Linked DNA regions of Homo sapiens: all the other regions are linked to region 1. Evidence: promoter capture Hi-C in 16 types of primary human blood cells and fetal thymus (Javierre and others, 2016). All regions are on one chromosome and are shown on one strand. Each heading gives the region's core, a stretch centred on a gene start or on the middle of the fragment in contact. The rest is flanking DNA. Distances are from core to core; before and after follow the strand shown. Region 1 holds the start of POGLUT1 (protein O-glucosyltransferase 1). Region 2 overlaps ARHGAP31 (Rho GTPase activating protein 31). Region 3 overlaps PLA1A (phospholipase A1 member A). Region 4 overlaps ARHGAP31 (Rho GTPase activating protein 31).

Region 1 (3,296 bases), core at 528-3,027:
ATCTCTAAGGAAGCATATTTGTCTTCCCTACTAGTTCTAAACTCCTGGGAGCACAGATTTGATCTTGTACTTCCCTGTATTTCCATATTTCCACAAGGCTTAGGGATATAACCATGTACATTTTAGAAAATAGATAAATATTGCTGGGCGCAGTGGCTCACGCCTGCAATCCCAGCACTTTGGGAGGTCGAGGCTGGTGGATCACCGGAGGTCGGGAGTTCGAGACCAGCCTGACAAATATGGAGAAACCCCATCTCTACTAAAAATACAAAATTAGCCGGGTGTGGTGGCGCAAGCCTGTAATCCACCTACTCAGGAGGCTGAGGCAGGAGAATTGCTTGAACCCAGGAGGCGGAGGTTGTGGTGAGCCGATATTGAACCATTGCACTCCAGCCTGGGCAACAAGAGCGAAACTCCATCTCAAAAAAAAAAAAAAAAAAGAAAATAGATAAATATTTGTAGTTCTATGATTACTAAATATATCTACACTGACCTATATATACCTGTATAAAGATATATACCTGTACTATACTATATACCTATATTGTCCAGTATCATGTTGCCCACTGTCAAGAAACAAAATTTCATCAAATTTAGTTTAAAGTTCTTGGCCAGGCATGGTGGCTCACGCCTGTAATCCCAGCACTTTGGGAGGCCGAGGTGGGCAGATCACCTGAGGTCAGGAGTTTGAGACCAACCTGGCCAACACGGTGAAACCCTGTCTTTACTAAAAATACAAAAATTACCCGGGCATGGTGACACACTCCTGTAATCCCAGCTACTCGGGAGACTGAGACAGAAGAATTGCTTGAACCCGGGAGGCAGACGTCATAGTGAGCCAAGATTGTGCCACTGCACTCCAGGCTGGGCAACAGAGTTAGACTGTCCTCTGTCTCAAAAAAAAAAAAAAATCGAATTGGCTTTTATTAGTGATTCATGAATCAGGCAGCATCTCATCTATAAAACAGAAAAGTGTTCTAATGAGCTGAGCAGAAGGGGTTGGGCTTATAGGCAGAAAAGGGCTGAAGAAAGCAGAAATAAGGAACAAAAAGCAGATTGGTCATTTTGAAGTTACTTTCCTCAAAGAGTTACATCAGAGGGGACTTCTTTATCATGCCAGCTCAGGTATATGGGCCCCTTCTCCTATTTGTTGGAAAACTGACCCCTTTTAAAGCTGAGTTTAATTACGCAGCACCTAGGACAAGTTGCCTCCATTCTGGTTTTGTCTGCTCTCTTGAGGCCTAGTGCCAGAGTTCTGTCCAAAACAACGACCTCCCATAAACTTTATTTAACACCATTGATCTTTTTTCCTACGTCTAAGTCACCCCAACTGTTATAAATTCCTATTACAAAGGGATCCCTGCTATGCTAATTGCAACCTTTGGGGTCTAACCGTGCTGTACACACACACACACACACACACACACACACACACACATGCTCAACAAATTTATGCTATTTGATAAGAGGCAATTTGACGTCAAGAGAAGAACTGTTTGGCCTAGGCTCTATGCCAAGTCTTGGTTGTGCCACTAACCGTGAAACATACCCTCTCTGACCTTCAGTTTTCTGGCTGCAGACCTATTTTCCCAGGGGTGCCAGGGAGGGAGGATAGGCAACTGGTCCATTCGTTTATCCTCCCCACCTTCCCGGCGCAGCCTTCTCAGGGAAACTCCGCCTCAAGGCTGGGGACTGGAGGAAGGGTGGTGGGGCCACGGTGGCCATCTTTGTGCGGGGCGACCCGCCGCCCACGTGCTGCGGCTCCCGGGCCATCTTTGTGCGGGGCCGCGCTTCCGCCAGCGCCGCAGCGGGGAATCTGCAGTAGGTCTGCCGGCGATGGAGTGGTGGGCTAGCTCGCCGCTTCGGCTCTGGCTGCTGTTGTTCCTCCTGCCCTCAGCGCAGGGCCGCCAGAAGGAGTCAGGTGGGCTCCGGGCAGTGCCGAGCCTGCCCCTTGGGCTCGGGGTCTGGCCGGAGTCCCGAGGCGCTCCCCCGCGCGGCCGGCTCCCGGGAAGATGCCGTGGCCGCTGTAGCTCGGAGCTGGGCAGAAGGCACCGGGGCGCCTTGCGGCGGAGAGTGAGGTGCCGGGGTCTCTGCTCCTGCTCTGGACCCTGGAGAGTAACCCATTCCCCGGAATTCAGAATGACAGGGAGGAGAGGGAATTCCCCGTTCACCCGCAGGAGGCGTGGCCCGTGCTTGGCTACTCTGGACCTGCCTGAAACACTGAGGGGTCGGGGATGGGGGCAAATGTCGTGCGCGCGAGCGTGTGTGTATATGCGTTGCCAGAAGAGAAGAGGGGTTTAATGTCTGTAGCTTTTAACTGATCCTCTTTGTGGAGTTCAATTTGATTAGTAGAAAGTGAGAGTCCGCGTCACTATCCATAGCATTCTGAGGGTTGAGCATTAAGCTTGGGAATTTTCCAGTTTCTTGGACACCTGACAGCCGGATAGAGGAACAGACTTGACGTGAGCGTGGGAGTTGCACACACAAAAATTCCTCCCTAGCGTTTCGTTTCCATCAGTGGGATGGGAAGGGGATTTCTGAAAGTTTTGGTCTTCTGTTTCTTCTGTTGGTGTGGTGTCAGCAAATAACATTCAGGAAAATTTTTTTAACTCTCATTTACTTCACTTTTTAAAGGTTCAAAATGGAAAGTATTTATTGACCAAATTAACAGGTCTTTGGAGAATTACGAACCATGTTCAAGTCAAAACTGCAGCTGCTACCATGGGTGAGTTCTTTTCTTTGATGTGTCTTTGAGAGTTTAGTTGCTGTCACAGGAAGTATTCTAACATCCTTGAGAGATTTTGGTTGCAGTGGTCAGAAAGGCAAGGATGTTTTTCTATTTCTGGGGAATAAAAATGCTCTCGCATGGGAAAGGCTCAGGTGGTGTCAACCTAACCACTGACTCACTGCGGGATTCAGTGCATGTGCATCTGTTTTTCCCACTGGGCTGCAAGCTTCCTGAGGTCAGGGTCTGTGTCTTATTTGCTGTTGTCTCCCTGGTGCTAGCTGTCAGTGCGTGCTCGATAAATATTGTTGAGGAAATAAACCCATCTATCGCTGAATCTAGTCCTAAATTTCCTGATGGTTATCTTTAGAAAATGCACATCAGGCTGGGCATGGTGGTTCATGCCTGTAATCCCAGCACTTTGAGAGGCCAAGGCAGGTGGATCACCTGAGGTCAGAATTTCGAGACCAGCCTGGCCAACATGGTGAAACCCTGTCTCTACTAAAAATACAAAAATTAGCTGGGCATGATGGCACGTGCCTGTAATCCCAGCTACTCGGGAGGCTGAGGC
Region 2 (3,296 bases), core at 797-3,296, 170 kb before region 1:
TTTTTAAATAGTTTAGGGTAAGTAGAGAAAAGGAAAACTTCTCTGTTTTCAAGGTCAGATGGGGGTAGGGGGGAGTTGGGGATGGGGGAATCCAGCGGAGACAATTTAAACATTTGTTGGGGAAGGGGGAAAGAAAACACCATCTAGATTACAATAACAGCGTTTGAGCTTAGAAGTGTTTAATCATAGGAAAGTTGGAAAATTGAGCATTAAATGACTCCTTTTGTAAGGTTGACTGGTTTTGCACTTACCCTTGACAAAAAGGCCTTGTCTTCAGAAGCTTCAGCGAGAGGAAAATAGCCTACTATATAGGCCATGTGTTTATACATAGATAGATACAACAAAGGGGAAAACTAAGGGCTGTGTAACCGTGCGGAATAATTCTGCCTCCAGGAAAATAATCTCAAAACCTATTTGATTAGTCCATATCGAATATGCATTTCAAAAACAGTGCAATGCTTTTGTTTCACTTCTGTGTTTTGGGAGACTCAGCACCACCTAGTAATTTGCAGTGGTGTGATATTCCTGTGGTATTCTAGAGTTCAGTCTGCTGTGTCATTAGGACAAATAGCTTAGGATTTTAGAGCTTGGAGAACCACAGGTTTCAAAACTGACTCTTTTGAAATTGATGCATAACTTAACACTTCATTGAATCCTCACCAACCATCTGGAGAGGTAGATTTGAGATAAAAATCACTTGGTTTGAGTTTTTTTGAGTGTGAGAAAACTCCAAGTATGCCTCTTAACCACTATCGTCAGAAGTTTACAATGAAAGGTTCCTCTTCACCTATTTTTGCAGGGGCCTTCAAGTTAACCTCCAGGTACACTAGGAATGCTCCTGGGATGCCACCTTTCACCATGCGGGTGTTATTCTGGCCCCTCCCTCAAATCTGTGAGAGTTGCATAGGGGTGCTTGCCAGCCCTGTTCGTTCTTACAAACTAATAGATTATAGGATGAGCCAGAACCCCAGGGTTCTATGAAGATATGTCAAAGGCAGCTTTAGGCAGCTGTTCTTTCACCTGCTTTATATTTTGGGCTTCTGCATATGTTTCATTTAGACAAAAAAAAACAGAGACTACTGCTTAAAAGAATGGCAAACCAGTACCCCGGGTTCCCCACCCTGGGGAGGGGGAAAAGAAGCCCAGAGGGGTAAATTGGCCTGCCTGAGGTTGTACAGCTAATCATGAAGGATCGGAGGGCCCTCCCTGGCCTGTTAGGTTCCTCTGCCCTCCCTGGCTTCTGTGTCTAAGCCAACATTCTCTTCTAATGATATTTTCCCCCTAAATTGAAAGCAGACAGCCCTGCTACAGGATCAGCAAACTTTGAAGACTGAACATACCTGATGAGAGTTCAGCTTTGAAAGGAAACGCAACTGACCCACTTAATGATCCACACACTGTTATTGTGCTACACGGAAATTAGACATGCATAATATACTGCTTATGGAAATAAGAGTAATTAGAATTTATTTTTTCCCTCAGCTAAAACTAGTTGGATGGTTTTTTTCTGTGTATTTGTGATAGTGTAGCATCAATGAACAAAGTCAGTGCTAATGGTTTTCTCTAAAGTAATGTTGCTTCTTTGTGGACTCTCCCAAACATGTATTGATTCATAGACAAGGCCTGGACTCTGCTTCTGGGAGGAAAAGCTGAGCTGGGAACTGGCCCTCTGCCCACCACCTTGGAAGATCAGCCCAGAATGCTGAGGGTGACAAGTCAGTGTGGTAACTGGGAGCCAGGGGGCTGGAGAAGGGCTCCCTGGACTGACATCATGGTTACTGAACTTTGAAGGTCAAAGGTGGTGCAGTAGACCTGCATTGAGAGGAAAGATAGGTTCAGGTTTGGGAGTACAAGGGGAGAAGACCAAAGATTTAGGGAGGCAAAGAGAGCTCCTGTCTTTGGACAGGGAAGGAAAGCCTTGAGTTGGAGTGGAGGACAAAGCGGGGTGATGATGAGCTATGCTCAGGGCATCTGAACATGGGGACGCCACATGCTTGAGTGGGAACTTTGGAGAGACAAAGGCTGAAGACAGAATGAATGTCATATGCTTCTGTAATTTGCTGAGGCTCAGCCCTGCTACTTTCAGCTGGACAAACCTGACAAGGCTGGGTGTGTGGTTTACAAATAGGTGTTCAGCTTAGGGCAGACATTGCTCAGGGCCAGTTGTCAACCTTAATCTTTGGGAAGCTGATGAGAAACAGAAACCCTTTCCTTAGAAACACACACACACACACACACACACACACACACACACCGTGTATGCAATTTCTGCAGGTATCTACATAGATGCCAATTTCAGACCCTGCTGTGATCACCCCTCACTGGCTACACAGGGGGGCCTGATATCCAGGACCAATTTTCCCCCTTCTTTGACCACTTTTCTCTAACTTGGTAAGAAGGGAGCAATGAACACTCTTAGCCAGGTAAGAACACTCAAGAATGGCATGAAGTGGCTCCTGGCAGACTTGCCAAGAGCCTCTTGCACTTCCCCTCCAACACAGTGGCTGCTGCCCCCAACCCCCAGCTCTCCCCTGGGAACCAGCTAACTTTCTCTTCCTGTCTGGAATAAAGGGAGATCATCCCTTCCTTACTGCTGCTGCTGAAAATAGTATAGTTTTCTTTTTCTTTTCTTGACCACTGAATAAGAAGGCCCTTGCTTGCAGCTGTATAACGAAAACCACATCATGTTGCTGTCTGTGGTTGGGAGGTTGTGGGTGAAGCTCTGCGAGGTCATAATGTGCCCATGGTTGTTTCCTACCTCTCCTTCATATGCCAAGTGTTCTGGGTCTTCTATTAGAGCTTGGAGATGGTTGGGGCCAGGAGCCAAGAGACAAGTAAGAGAGAGTTATAGGGAAAATTATCTTCTTCCTCTGGGTTGGCTTTACTTTAATGGCTGAGGATTTTCTTGCTCCTCTGAGCAATCTTTGTTTATTTTACCCACTCCCTGGTAAAAAGTGATACCGAGCTTCCAAGCTGACAAAGAAAAGAAGGGGCGACGATTGTGCCAAAAAGGGCTGCAGCCACGTGCAGCCTGTTCGCTGCACCATCTGCGCCCAATGCCTGCCCAAGGACAAGGCTATTAAGAAGTTCCTCATCCAAAACACAGTAGAGGCCACCGCTGTCAGGGACATTTCTGAAGCAAGCGTCTTCACCGCCTATATACTTCCGAAGTTGTATGTAAAGCTACATTATTGTGTGAGTTGTGCCATTCACAGCAAGGTAGTCAGGAATTGATCTCGTGAAGCCTGCAAGGACCAAACACTCCCACCCTGATTTACATGTGCAGGTGTTGCCCT
Region 3 (3,296 bases), core at 337-2,836, 160 kb after region 1:
TAGCTGGGACTACAGGTACACACCACATGCCCAACTAATTTTTTGTTTTTGTTTTTTTGTAGAGACTGGGTCTTGCCATGTGGCCCAGGCTGGTCTTGAACTCCTGGGCTCAAGTGATCTGCCCACCTTGGCCTCCCAAAGTACTAGGATTTCAGGCATGAGCCACTATGCCTGGCCTGTAATCTTTCTTACCTTCTCTTGCCAGAGGGACAGCAGGTCCCAGGGGTATCACCATGGCCCAGGCTGTACACCCAGTCTATGTTGGCGACACTCACTTTGAGAGCTCCAGTGTCCATGCTGCTCAAGGGAGAGTCTGGATGCCACATAGGTAACCAGCGGCTGCAGGGAGAGGAGCAGTCTCCTACACACACAGCCTGCTTCCCTGACGCTGGGTGTGTGGAGAGGGAGCAGGGCCGTTGCTGTATTTAATGAGTTAATTCTCTCTTTCTTTTTTTTTTTTTTTTTTTTTTTTGAGACAGAGTTTCACTCTTGTCACCCAGGCTGTAATGCAACGGCACCATCTCGGCTCACTGCAACCTCTGCCTCCCGGGTTCAAATGCTTCTCCTGCCTCAGCCTCCTTAGTAGCTGGGGTTACAGGTGCCTGCCACCATGCCTGGCTAATTTTTATATTTTTAGTAGAGACAGGGTTTCACCATATTGGCTAGGCTGGTCTCAAACTCCTGACCTCAGGTGATCCACCCGCCTTGGCCTCCCAAAGTGCTGCGATTACAGGAGTGAGCCACCACGCCTGACCTTATGAGTTAAACCTTTAGTTTATGTCTTAGTCTACTTGTGCTACTATGACACAGTACCTGAGACTGGGTAACTTACAAAGCTCAGAAATTTATTTTCCCACAGCTCTAGAGGCTGGGAAGTCCCAGATCAAGGCGCCGGCACTCCATGTCTATAAGGGTTGCACTTTCTGCTCCCAAGAAGGTGCTTTGCTGTTGCATTCTCCAGAGGGGACAGATACCGTGTTCACACACAGCAGAACGCAGGAGGTCAAATAAGGGCCCTGCCAATTCCCTTGAGCCCTTCTATAAGGCACTATTTCATTCATGATAGTAGAGCCTTCATGACTTAATCCCTTCCCTCAAAGGCCCCACCTCTCAGTACTGTTGCACAGAGCATTCAGTTTAAACATGAACTCGGAGGGGACACAAACAAAAGATAGCCGTATATGATAGATGCATTTTGGCTCATTCAAGATCATCCCACCATGAATATGTCAGCAAACAAGGGGAAGTAAAACATTAGTATTACAAAATAACAAAAACTAACATTACTGAATGCTTCCTAGGCACAGGCACTGTCCTGAGAAGTTCATACATATTAACCCACTTATTTCAGACCTAGGGTATCTATTTTTTTTTTTTTTTAGACGGAGTCTTGCTCTGCCGCCCAGGCTGGAGTGCAGTGGTGCAATTTCTGCTCACTGCAAACTCTGCCTCCTGAGTTCAAGCGATTCTCCTGTCTCAGCCTCCTGAGTAGCTGGGATTACAGGCACCCGCCACCACACCTGGCTAATTTTTATATTTTTAGTAGAGATGGGGTTTCACCATGTTGGTCAGACTGGTCTCAAACTCCTGACCTCAGGTGATCCACTCGCCTCGGCCTCCCAAAGTGCTGGGATTACAGGCGTGAACCACTGCGCCCAGCCAAGTGTCTATTTTTATTATCCTCAATTTGCACTTGAGGAAACTGAGGACCTGAGATTATAGGTGATCTGCTCCTGGGCACACAGCCACTAAGAGATAGAGCCAAGATTCCCAACCACACTGCTGCTCTCTGGGGTTTTTGCCCATTGCACCTTCTGCCCTCTGGCCAGTCTCTGTTGTGCTTTGGTTTCCTAGTGCATCACAGCCTCGTGGAGTTTCACTTGAAGGAACTGAGAAACAAGGACACCAACATCGAGGTTACCTTCCTTAGCAGTAACATCACCTCTTCATCTAAGATCACCATGTACGTAAGTGTCCCACCTGGTTGACTCCTCCCCTTAGGAGTTGGTTACTTTTTCATTTTACACACATGGACATCCCAGGTCAGGGACTGTGTGATTGCTGATGCATGGGCCCAGCCGGCTTGGCTGGGGGCAGCACCTACTATAGATCCAGCCACAGACACATGCTGAGGAGCTGTTCAGTAGTGGGTCCAAGTATAGCAGATTCAGATGAGAGTAGGCAGGGCAAGCAGGCAGCAGGGATGGCATGTCCCAACAGATGGAGAGGACATAGGAATCAGGTCCCTGAGAGGAAACAGTACTCTGGAATCCAGACAGTGCGGGTATCAGGGATGTCAGTAGGGAGGAGGGCCTCAGTCACCAGCCCAGGAAGGGCTAGCCAGAGCCTGGAGAGCACCCACTCCTGGGAAAGGAGAGCAGTTCTGGGTCAGTTACCAGAATGGAATCTGAGGCACAGGGTCAGTCAGCAACGGAGTGCGAGCTGAGGGCCAGACTAGCGGCCAGGAGGGCTTGGTGCTGGGTGATTCCTGAAACTGGGGGTAGTCATTCCCTTCCTTTGTTGGGGCAGACTTGGGCTTGGGGGCTGGTGGGACTACGCTTGAAGTGAGAGGGCAAGGAACCCCAACTGTAGGGAGCCACAGCCTGCAGGGGATAGGAAGTCAGCAGCCATGGTGCATGCTTCTTTAAAAAGCAACCGGTTAGTTATTCACAAGCCAGCGGGAGACAGATTGTCAGATAATGTCACTGTCTCAGTGAGAGTCCGGTCAGGAAAACAGAGGAGGTCCAAGAGAAGGAATTTAGCACAGTGAACTCATTACAAGTGTGTTGGATGAGCTGGAAAACAGAGATGGGGACACAATGCAGAGATTAATCACAACAGGAGCCAATACAACCCTAGGCTAGAGGGACAAAGCAGGAGTGGAGTTGGCAAAGCTGGGTCCACAGGGAAGGCTGCTTGGCAGGAGCTGAACCCATGGGAAGTGCGGCCCCTCTGGAACCCCTGCCCAAAGCAGCCACCCACCTGAGCATGCTTCCACTGGGTTAGACCTCACTGGAACCTGTTGGTGGGGGAACCTGCAGGGGAATAGATCAGTCCAGAGCAAACAGGGAAATGACCAGTGCACACACACTTAAATGAGTGAGCAATGCCCTGAGAGTGACAGCATAGAAGACAGAGTCTGACTGAGTCCAAGGAAATGATGAGCAGGCTTTCCAGGAGCTACCCAGGCCAGGCTTAGAGAGAATGTGACACCTCTGGTGTGTCTGGAGCACAGATTTGGGGTTGTGGGGATGCTGTGAGGCTGGAGAGGCAAGTCAGAGCCAGACCCTGCCAGG
Region 4 (3,296 bases), core at 382-2,881, 140 kb before region 1:
ATTGTTTCAGTTGCCTCACCTGACATACTGTCTCACCTGAGAGAGGGAGGCCGAAGAGGCAGCCAATGGTGGCTGGAGCAAGCCCTGTCCTCGTTACCTGGGCTGTGGCTGAGCCCTGGGGCTCACCGGCTGTATGGCCCTGGGCAAGTCCTCGGAGCCTTAGGTTCTCTGCAAAATGGAGATGATGTTTAATAGAAAATGTTTCTATAACTTTTGTGGCTTACTTTTTGAAAAGCGAGGGAGGGACTTTTGTCCTTCCCTCCTCGCATCTCAGTCGCAGTGCTGGTTCACAATCAGGCTGTTAACGCGGTTTCCACATTTCCTGTCCTCCCCCTTCCCCTTTCCTGCTGGGAATAAGAAGGTGGGCCCCCAAGGAGACAGAGGGTACACTCGTAAATGAAAAAGAAAAGTCAGCACAAGGACCCTTTGCTGCGGAGATTTCTTTTTCCAGGTATCCTAAGTGGGGCTCTTGCCATCCCTGCCATCCCTGCTCTACACCGAAGGGGTGAAGTCCTGGGACTCTGTTATGCCCATCTGTATGTAATCCTAGGCAAGATTATTACAGTAGCGCTTTCCTCTTTTTAGAATATACCCTTGTCTAGCCCCTACCCCATCTTCAGGACAGTAAAGGTTCTCAACTCACTTCAAACCCTCCTAGCCGTCTAGAACAGTGGCTCACAACCGCAGACCCATAGGAAATGTAGGGCCATCTATGTAATAAATTTATCCGGATGTATTATAACAATTTTAAGGTTACACTTGTCCTTTCTTGAACAGGACAATTCTTTATTCTAAGACTATATGCTTCATAGTTTTAGTTATTTTGAATTGTCCATTCTGTTATGAAATACGATAGTTATTGTTGGTTGATGTCCTCTCTCAGAAAAATAAAAAATTAGCAGTCCTAGGTAGATCCCCCAAAATCTTTTAAACTTGATCTGTGAAATCCAAAAAGCTTGGGTACCATTGCTGTATTCCACATGTGGTTCACATCAAGGTTCCTTGTCCCTCCCAAGGAGATTTGTAGCTATTAAAAGAAACAAACAAACAAACATAAACAACAAAAACCCTTTCGAGAATCAGATCCTCAAAGAATGTTTAAGGATAGACGTGGAAAAACAAAGAGTGGGGAGAGGAGTCTTTCTCTACTCTCAACCCCTAGCCCTTAGTGTAGGTGAAGGCAGCACAGTTGTATCTATTCTAACTGGTATTTAGTATTGAGCATAACTTTTAATGGACGACTCCTTTTAGTAAAACAGAGAACCAATTTTGAATAAACCAAGGTCTCTTGGTCTCTCAGTTTGCAGATCAGCGGAATGGCTAAATGAAGGTGCTATACTTTACTTAAAAGGTGAAAATGTGTCATTTGGGTAAGCAATAAGCAGTACTCCTCATGTCAATAGTGGCATAGTGTGGACTTATATGATGCCGTCTTAAATTAGGCCTCATTGGTTAATGTTTATTGAACACTCTCAGTGTGTTTGGTGCTAATTAAAATATCTTCAAGTCACAGAATCACTGCCTTCTAGTAACTAGTGATGCAGCAAGCTGTAACTGTTGAATCATACCTACCTATATCAACACAGATACTACACATGCATATTCATCTTTTTTGGATGCTAAGATAAAATTTTGCTTAAAATTCTTACTTAGTTGTGTGGGAAGTAGGGGAAAGGAAGATTTTTAAATTTGAAATGGTTGTCCTAGGATAGGAAACCATCGCAGCTGTCATGCACATTAATATTTTAGAAACACATTCACATATCATCTCTGTTGATCTTCCCAAGACGCTGTGACTCTACAGGCTGATTTCAGAGATGTTGTTCCCCCTTTACAGGCAACATATTTTAGTGGCTTGCCCAAGGAGGCTTACCTAAGGCCACACTGCTGGGTCGGGAGTCTGCCCTGGGTCTGCCTCTTCCCACTCACACTGTTGCAGTCCTGTATTCTGGGAAGGCCTCTATGGGCCAGTCCCAGAGCCTTTGAACCAGGGGAGAAAGGGTGGAGGGGAAGCTAGCTTCTCCTAGTTCTGTATACCCAAGAATCCACCTGGTGGGGATGGCGGGGGTTGGGGGGGAAGGGGGGGACGGAAATGACTTAGCCTGAAGGCAGGCTGTTTGACAGCTAGGGCAAAACAGTGGCGAGAAGAAACTCAGGGAAAGGAGAGAGGAGCTACCAGTAATTTTCAAACTTCGCTTAATATTAGAATCACCTGGGAAGTTTTTAAAAATTTTTTTTGATGCCTAGCTGTCACCCATACTGATTAAATCAGAATCTCTGAAGGTGGAACTAGGCATTGGTATTTTTAAAAGCTTCCCAGGGCTGGGCACGGTGGCTCACGCCTGTAATCCCAGCATTTTGGGAGGCTGAGGCGGGTGGATCACCTAGGGTCAGGAGTTCAACACCACCCTGGCCAACATGGTGAAACCCGGTCTCTACTAAAAATGCAAAACATTAGCCGGGCGTGGTGGTGGGCGCCTGTAATCCCAGCTACTCAGGAGGCTGAGGCAGGAGAATCACTTGAACCCAGGAGGCGGAGGTTGCAGTGAGCTGAGATCATGTCATTGCACTCCAGCCTGGGCAACAAGAGCAAAACTCTGTCTCAAAAATAAAAGTAATAATAATAATAAAAAGATTCCCAGGGTTTTAGAGTGTGTAGGCACATTTGAAGACAAGTGGCCTACAGCGATGCTCAGATTTTTGTGTGCATTTTCAATCACCTGTGGATCTTGTTAAAATTAGGGTCTGGTACAGTCAGCTGAGAATGTGTCGTGCTACTGTACAGATCCAGAAAAAGGAAACACTGGGTGCTCGGTGGTCAGGAAGAGTTTTGTGAAGGAGAACAAGTCTGGGTGGGCTTTGGACATTGTGTAAGATCTAAAACTTAAGAAAGTATGAGAATAGCATTCCCCTCTGGGAAATGAGACAGAGGCCTAGAAGTGGAAACGTCCAAGATATGTTTCAGGGGACCCTGCTGGTCCAGTATAACTGATGGGGAGAAGTTTTTCAGAGATCTGATCTTCCAAATTTAGCACTTGGCAGTTAACTAGCTATTGTTTTGGGTGCATTTGTGTTCTTCCCTCTTCAAGACCTTGGTGTTCAGAAACCTGTGTTTTAGTGCGTTTTGCCACACATGATGCTAAGCATTCAGCAGGTATTCAGAACATGACTGGAATCTTGCGTTTGTATCTGCTATTCCCTTTATGTTCTGACAGATACTTACCCTGATCACTCACTGATTTCCTTTGTGGCTTAAAGCTCAATTTCTGTCAGGTGGGTTGGCTCGCACCTGTAAT

What was found. The method cuts DNA at HindIII sites, captures the fragments that hold promoters and counts their contacts. A CHiCAGO score of 5 or more calls a contact.
Region 2: a fragment that was not itself captured here is called in contact with the fragment with the promoter of POGLUT1 in region 1 in 9 of 17 cell types (total CD8 T cells, fetal thymus, megakaryocytes and 6 more); the score reaches 9.2 in total CD8 T cells.
Region 3: a contact is called between a fragment that was not itself captured here and the fragment with the promoter of POGLUT1 in region 1, in 1 of 17 cell types (monocytes). The highest score is 6.3, in monocytes.
Region 4: a contact is called between a fragment that was not itself captured here and the fragment with the promoter of POGLUT1 in region 1, in 4 of 17 cell types (megakaryocytes, total B cells, naive CD8 T cells and 1 more). The highest score is 5.4, in megakaryocytes.

The regions. Positions count from the first base shown.
Region 1 is chr3:119,467,186-119,470,481 of GRCh38, forward strand. POGLUT1 (protein O-glucosyltransferase 1) reads left to right here and starts at 1,778. Exons shown (of 11, transcript NM_152305.3): 1 at 1,778-1,921; 2 at 2,635-2,725. The coding sequence starts at 1,837. RefSeq lists enhancers at 1,442-1,942, 1,635-1,804 and a silencer at 1,855-2,054. The HindIII fragment of the contact is 3,798 bases long and covers 1-2,402 here.
Region 2 is chr3:119,295,692-119,298,987 of GRCh38, forward strand. The region is part of intron 1 of ARHGAP31 (Rho GTPase activating protein 31); the gene reads left to right. It also overlaps the pseudogene RPS26P21. Among named protein-coding and RNA genes, the nearest start is that of ARHGAP31, 3.0 kb to the left of the region's middle. RefSeq lists an enhancer at 2,024-2,093. The HindIII fragment of the contact is 3,536 bases long and covers 279-3,296 here.
Region 3 is chr3:119,623,270-119,626,565 of GRCh38, forward strand. PLA1A (phospholipase A1 member A) reads left to right here. Exons shown (of 11, transcript NM_015900.4): 9 at 1,855-1,963. Among named protein-coding and RNA genes, the nearest start is that of PLA1A, 27 kb to the left of the region's middle. RefSeq lists an enhancer at 856-1,055. The HindIII fragment of the contact is 5,078 bases long and covers 1-3,296 here.
Region 4 is chr3:119,323,589-119,326,884 of GRCh38, forward strand. The region is part of intron 1 of ARHGAP31 (Rho GTPase activating protein 31); the gene reads left to right. Among named protein-coding and RNA genes, the nearest start is that of ARHGAP31-AS1, 2.5 kb to the left of the region's middle. RefSeq lists enhancers at 1-557, 3,254-3,296. The HindIII fragment of the contact is 1,357 bases long and covers 954-2,310 here.